Linked DNA regions of Homo sapiens: region 2 is linked to region 1. The links are contacts of gene promoters, found by promoter capture Hi-C in human tissues and cell types (Jung and others, 2019). All regions are on one chromosome and are shown on one strand. The core of a region is centred on a gene start or on the middle of the fragment in contact, and the rest is flanking DNA. Distances in the headings are between cores, read along the strand shown. Region 1 holds the start of AK3 (adenylate kinase 3). Region 2 has its middle 25 kb from the start of JAK2.

Evidence for each region. The method cuts DNA at HindIII sites, captures the fragments that hold promoters and counts their contacts. A contact is called where the count stands out against the background at its distance.
Region 2: a fragment that was not itself captured here is called in contact with the fragment with the promoter of AK3 in region 1 in 1 of the 25 tissues and cell types used here (lymphoblastoid cells).

What each region holds. Positions count from the first base shown.
Region 1 is chr9:4,739,952-4,742,451 of GRCh38, reverse strand. AK3 (adenylate kinase 3) reads left to right here and starts at 1,250. Exons shown (of 5, transcript NM_016282.4): 1 at 1,250-1,515. The coding sequence starts at 1,365. RefSeq lists silencers at 861-1,350, 1,581-1,720. The HindIII fragment of the contact is 7,449 bases long and covers 1-2,500 here.
Region 2 is chr9:4,958,050-4,961,715 of GRCh38, reverse strand. No RefSeq gene overlaps it. Among named protein-coding and RNA genes, the nearest start is that of JAK2, 25 kb to the left of the region's middle. The HindIII fragment of the contact is 6,432 bases long and covers 1-3,666 here.

The DNA.
Region 1 (2,500 bases), core at 1-2,500:
ATCAGTTCTGGACCTCTGAGGAGAATGGTAACTGTGTTTTATTTTCAGAGAGCCTTCTTTCTGCCTTAGCATAGTGTCCGGGACAAAGCAATGATGATAAATGGACAACCATTATTGAACATTGACCCCGTAGCTGGCATTGCACTAAGTACTACATTATTTTAACTCCTCCATTCTACTCCTCTATGCCCATTTTACAGGCAAAATGATACTCACTCGAACGTTTTTGTCCTCTGTTTCCATTCTTGAAACATGCCAAACCTCCAGTTTTAGGGCCTTTTCCTAAAACTGGACATAGGAAGGGCCCATGTCTCTCTCTTCCATATTCTAATTAAGCACTCAGCACACATGCCATCTCTTCAAAGCTTTTCCGACCGCCTATCTACAACAGCCTGCCTCCACAGTTTCACACACTCTTTTACGTTATTTATAAAAGAGTCTCACTCAATGGAAGCTGGATTTCCTCTCCTGTAAAATGAGGTAGGCCCTCTCGGCTCAAGGTCACTCCCTGTGATTCTACACAGAGAGGGAGTGGGAAGAGAGGGCGCTCGGCAGCAGAGGAGGAGGAGGAAGGAGGGAAGGGCGAAGGCGGGAGTGGGTGCAGAAGCGGGGGGTCTGGCGGTCCAGGGGGGTAGAAGGGAGGGGCGGATTCGAGTGGGCGCCAGGTGGAGGTGGGGCCAGGGTTGTCAAGGGAGCACGAAAGGGGTCGCGGTGTGTCCGGCAAGGACTGGGTAGGGCAGCGCCTGCTATGGACTAGGGGCGAGGGCTACGAAAGGGTTGTTGGAGGGGTGGATGCGGGTGGATCCCGAAACCAAGCGGCTCCGAGGGGCGACTAGAGGTGGGGAGGGGGCGCGCAGGAGTTGCCAAGGTCGGACAGAGGGGAGCGCGGTCTATCCGGCTGGGAATGGGCCGGACAGGGCGCGGGGTTCCGGGGTCGCGGAGAGGCGCGGAGGTAGATCTGAGCCGAGTGGAGGGCGCGTGGGGGTGGGTGCAGAGGGGCGCCGAAGGGATCCGGGCCCAGCGGCCGGTGGAGAGGGGCCGCGGAGAGGCGCAGGTGGGAGCTGGGCGGCCGAGCGAGCGCAGAGGGGGCGCGGCTTGCGCGGCTTGCGCGGCTGGGCGGGAACAGGCGCTCGGTCGGGGGCGGGGGGTGCGCCGGGGTAGCCGAGAGGCGGACGCAACAGCGGGGTCCCGCGCTGTCTGGGCGGCCCCAGGGGCTGTCGGCTCACTTCCGGGAACGCCGGGGAACCGCAGTAGCCGCCTGCTAGTGGCGCTGCTAGCCGGCCGGCGCAGGCTGCCGAGCGGGTGAGCGCGCAGGCCAGGCCAAAGCCCTGGTACCCGCGCGGTGCGGGCCTCAGTCTGCGGCCATGGGGGCGTCCGCGCGGCTGCTGCGAGCGGTGATCATGGGGGCCCCGGGCTCGGGCAAGGGCACCGTGTCGTCGCGCATCACTACACACTTCGAGCTGAAGCACCTCTCCAGCGGGGACCTGCTCCGGGACAACATGCTGCGGGGCACAGGTGGGAGCTCTGGGCCCAGGGCCGGCCGTGCGCTGTCACCCGGGTCGGACTTCGCGGGCGAGGGGCCGAAGCTGGGCACGCGGGTCCCTGGCTGCGGGCGCGGCATTTCCCTCCCGCCGCCCGGGACAGAGACCTCGGGCTGCTGAGCGACTGCGCCCCAAAACCTCCGGCCTCCGTGGGCCGCTTCGGGCGGGTTATGGGGTGGCGGTGGGGGAAGGGACTGGAAAGTTAGGTCGAGCTCGAAGTTCAGAGATGAAAGGAAACCACCGGGCTTTGTTTCAGAGGCCCAAGTCCTCCCAGTGGCAGCCACTCTTGGGGGTCCATCGAGCTGAGCCGCAGCTTGTTCAACGTGCTGGTGCCTTTGGAAGACTGTCATTAGCCCTGCTAGAGTCTGCTCGTTCTGTTTTGTTTTCTTTGTTTCTTTCTTTTCTCTTTCTTTTTTGGTGTGGTTAAGCTCTATGAGATCTTGTAGTTCTGACCTTTCCCCCATATTCCCAAGGCCAAGTATTATTTACCCTTGTTGCAGTCATAAAATTATCTCATTTTGATATCCTTAGATTTCGTAGACACGAAGGCTATTCTTGTGCATGGTTCTATAAAATATTTTGTTTCTCATGCCAAATAAATTCTTACAGCTCGGCACGAAAGGCAGTTAACAATCTACACTATACAATGGGTGAATTTGTGGTATGTAAATTCTCTCTTAAGAGGGTTGTTTTTGAAAAGCCAATCGCAGGAGTTTTTTTCTCAAAAAATGTTGACCTTACTTTTCAAAATAGAACCCGTTTTGAAACTCATTTTGAAACCCATTTACATAGAAATAATGCTTCCACAAGGCCTTTTTCTTTTGTTTTCCTTCTTTTTTTTTTTTTTTTTGTAAGGATAGCAAACAGGATAGACGTGCATAGCATAAAAAACAACGCCCTCTTTCGTTCCCTACCTCAGTCCCATTCTTCGGAGGGGAACAGAGTTTTCCTTCTAGAAA
Region 2 (3,666 bases), core at 1,077-3,576, 220 kb before region 1:
ATACAGGAAGAAAAATGAGAATTGCATCTGACTTCTTGTCAGAAACCAAGCAAGCTAGAAAAGAAAAAAGTAAAATCTACGGTGTTTGGAGAAAAAAAAACCCCACAAACTTAGAATTCTGTACCTTACAAAATTATCCTTCAAAAGTGAAGGAGAAATAAAGACTTTCTCAGACAAACAAAAACTAAGGGGACTTGTTGCCAGTAGACCTGCCTTGAAGAAATTTTAAAAGTTCTTCAAAATAAAGGAAAATTATATAGGTCAGAAATTCAGATCTACATAAAGAAAGGAAGAGCATCAGAAAAGGAATAAGTCAAGGTAAAATTTAAAAATTTATTTTTCAGGCTGGGTGTGGTGGCTCAGTCCTATAATCCCAGCTTGACCTTTAGGAGGTCAAAATAGCAACGAAGTATTTAATTATGTATGTTTATATACATATAGATATATTCTATGTATACTTATGTAAAAGTGAAATGAATGACCATAATAACACAAGGTATTGGAGGGAGAAGTTAGAATTATTCTGTTGTTAAACAGTACTGGTACTATCCATAAAGCAGTATAGCATTATTTGAGACTTGGATTAGCTATAAATGTATATTGCAAATGCTAGGGGAACTACCAAAAAAAAGCCTTTAAAAAAGTAGAATGGTATGCTAAGAAAGGAGAGAAAATGGAATCATATAAAATGTTCAATTAACACCACAAAAGGTAGAGAAAGAATGGCAGACAAAAATAGGAAAAAAACAAATGGAAAAATGGATAACAGTAACAAATATGGTAGAAATTGATCCAACTATATTAATAATCACTAATCAATGGTCTAAATACACCAACTAAAAGGATTACCAGAGTGAATTAAAAGATCCTAGGCTGTGCACAGTGGCTCATGCCTGTAATCCTAGTGTTTAGGAAGGCCAGGATGGGAGGATTGCTTTAGACCAGAAGTTCAAGACCAGCCTAGGTAACATAGTGAGACCCCGTCTCTACACAAAATTTAAAAATTAGCTGTGTGTGGTGGCACTTGCCTGTAGTCCTAGCTACTGGGGAAACTGAAGCAGGAGGGTTGCTTGAGCCCAGGAGTTGGAGGCTGCAGTGAGCTACGATCATGCCCCTACACTACAGTCTAGGCAACAGAGTGAGACCTTGTCCCCCACCAAAAAAGAAACAAAGAAAGAAAGAAAGAAAATAAGACCCAAATATATGTTGTCTACAAAATAAAAAAAGCACTTTAAATACAAAGACACATATAGATTCACTAGGAATTGCAAATTAAAACAATAAGATACTACTACCTACCTATAAGAATGACCAAACTCCAAAACACTCACTGCACCAAATGCTGGCAAGGATGTAGAGTAACAGGAACTCATTGATTGCTGGTAGGAATGCAAAATGCTCACTACTACTATTAAAAACAAAGCCTTTTTTTTGCCAGGGGTGGGGGTGGAGGATGGAGTCTCTCGTTCTCACCCTGTTGCCCAGGCTGGAGTGCAGTGGCAGAATCTTGGCTCACTGCAACCTGTGCCTCCCAGGTTCAAGGGATTCTTGTGCCTCAGCCACCAGAGTAGAAAACAAAGCCTATTTTTAATGGAGAAATAAAACATATTCATAATATAAAATAAAAATTGAGAGAGTTTGTCAGTAGTAGACCTGCCCTACAATAAATGTTAAAGGGACTCCTCCAGGGTGAAAGGGACGGACACTAAGAACAAGGGTAAAGGTAGCTACATAAGTAAATATAAAGGACAATAGTATTGCATATATGGTTTATAACTCTTTTCTATATGATTTAAATGACAAATGAATAAAACAATTATTAAAATGCTATGTTAATGTGCATTCAATGTATAAAGATATAATTGTGACAATAACAACAGAAAGGGGAAAGGGATGGGGCTGGAAAGGAGTACAGTATTTACCTACTATTGAAAATAAGGTATTGGTATTAATTTAAACTTTACTGATGTAAAGTTAAGATATTAATTGTAATCTCCAGATAACCACTAAGGAAAAAACTTTAAAATATACAGAAAAAGAAATGAGAAGGAAATCAAAACAAGAAAGCTTGATCTAAGAGCAAGTTGTCAGAATAGTTCTTTGGCTCCAGTCTCCCTCACAGAAATCCAACTAGCAACTATCCATGGACAAGAATTCCTTTGTGAATACCTCAGAACTTGAAAGTAAGGCTGAGACATCCTCTGGGACAGGAGAATGGAGACAAGTTGCATTCAAAGGGTAAAAGGAATAGCTTCAATTTGACTGAAAAGTATACTTCCCCCAAGCCTGCACAGCACCACACAGAGAGAACTCCCCTAGGTCCAGTTTCCACTGTGGGAAAAGAGAGTTGGAGGCAAACATTCAGCTTCCTCGCCAGTCTGGAGCCCTTTGAAGACAGATCACTCCTGTCTTGCCCCATGGGGAACATAGGGCAGGCAGAGGTGGTGGTGGTGGTATTATCAACAGGGATAGGCCATCTGGGGCGGGGCTCATAGTGGCTAACATGCAAATTTTGGTGGTGGCTCTGCATTCTGGCCAGCAGAAGCACTTCACCAGAGAAACTGGCCAACAGAATTGCTCCTAACACAAAGAAATAATAAATGCTTGAGGTGATGGATACCCCAATTACCCTGATCAAAACATTGTATGCCTATATAAAAAATCACACGTACCCTGTAAATATGTACAGCTGTTATATTTTCACTATTTTTGTGAAGAATGTCACTGGTATTTTGATAGGGATTGCATTGAATCTGTGGATCATTTTTGACAGTATGATTATTTTCACAATATTAATTCTTCCAATCCATGAACATGGCATGTCTTTTCATTTATTTATGTTTTCTTCAATTTTTTCATCAGTGTTTTATAGTTTTCCTTTTAGAGATCTTTCACCTCTTAGTTAAACTGATTCCTAGGGGTGTTTTTGTACCTAGTATAACTGCGATTGCATTCTTGATTTCTTTTTCCATTAGTACATTGTTGGTGTCTAGAAATGCTACTGATTTTTGCATGTTGGTTTTGTATCCTGAAACTTTGCTGAATTAATTCATTAACACTAACCTAGGCTGAAGAAGTTTGGGGCAGTGACAGCAGCAGTGAAAGCTGTTGATATCTTTAGTGGCAAGAGTTTTTAGGGTCTTCCTATTTTGGGATTCCCCACAACATGGAGACTTAGCCAAAGGGATCCCTCTTAGTGTCAGGTCTGACATGGCCTATAAGCAGTTGTAGAGGCTCTGAGTTCCAGGTGCAGGTGCTCAGGGTGGCTGAGGGGCCACACAGACCTAAGCTTAGGGTCTTGTGACCCCACTGTGGCACCTGGGTCTTAGGGTTCAGGTTTGTTCTCTGTGGCCAGGTTGGATGTATCATGCCCACAGACTCAGGTTCTGTGACTCTCAGGCATCTTCTGGCAGCTCAGGCCCATGGAGCGTGTGATTCTACCCCTGGAGGGCAGGGCAAAGCACTGGCCTGGCTCAGGGGAAGAAGGGGTACTCTGGAGGCTTGGGCCTACAGAGCAGGGTATGGCTGCAATTTGGGAATATGAGTCATAAGGCTCAGTAGCAAATCATATCCCAAAGGATGAAGCATCATACAGTGGTGACTCTAGACCCTGGGATAGTGGGACTCAGCAGTATCCTAGACTCTGTGAAACCAGGATCAATGGCA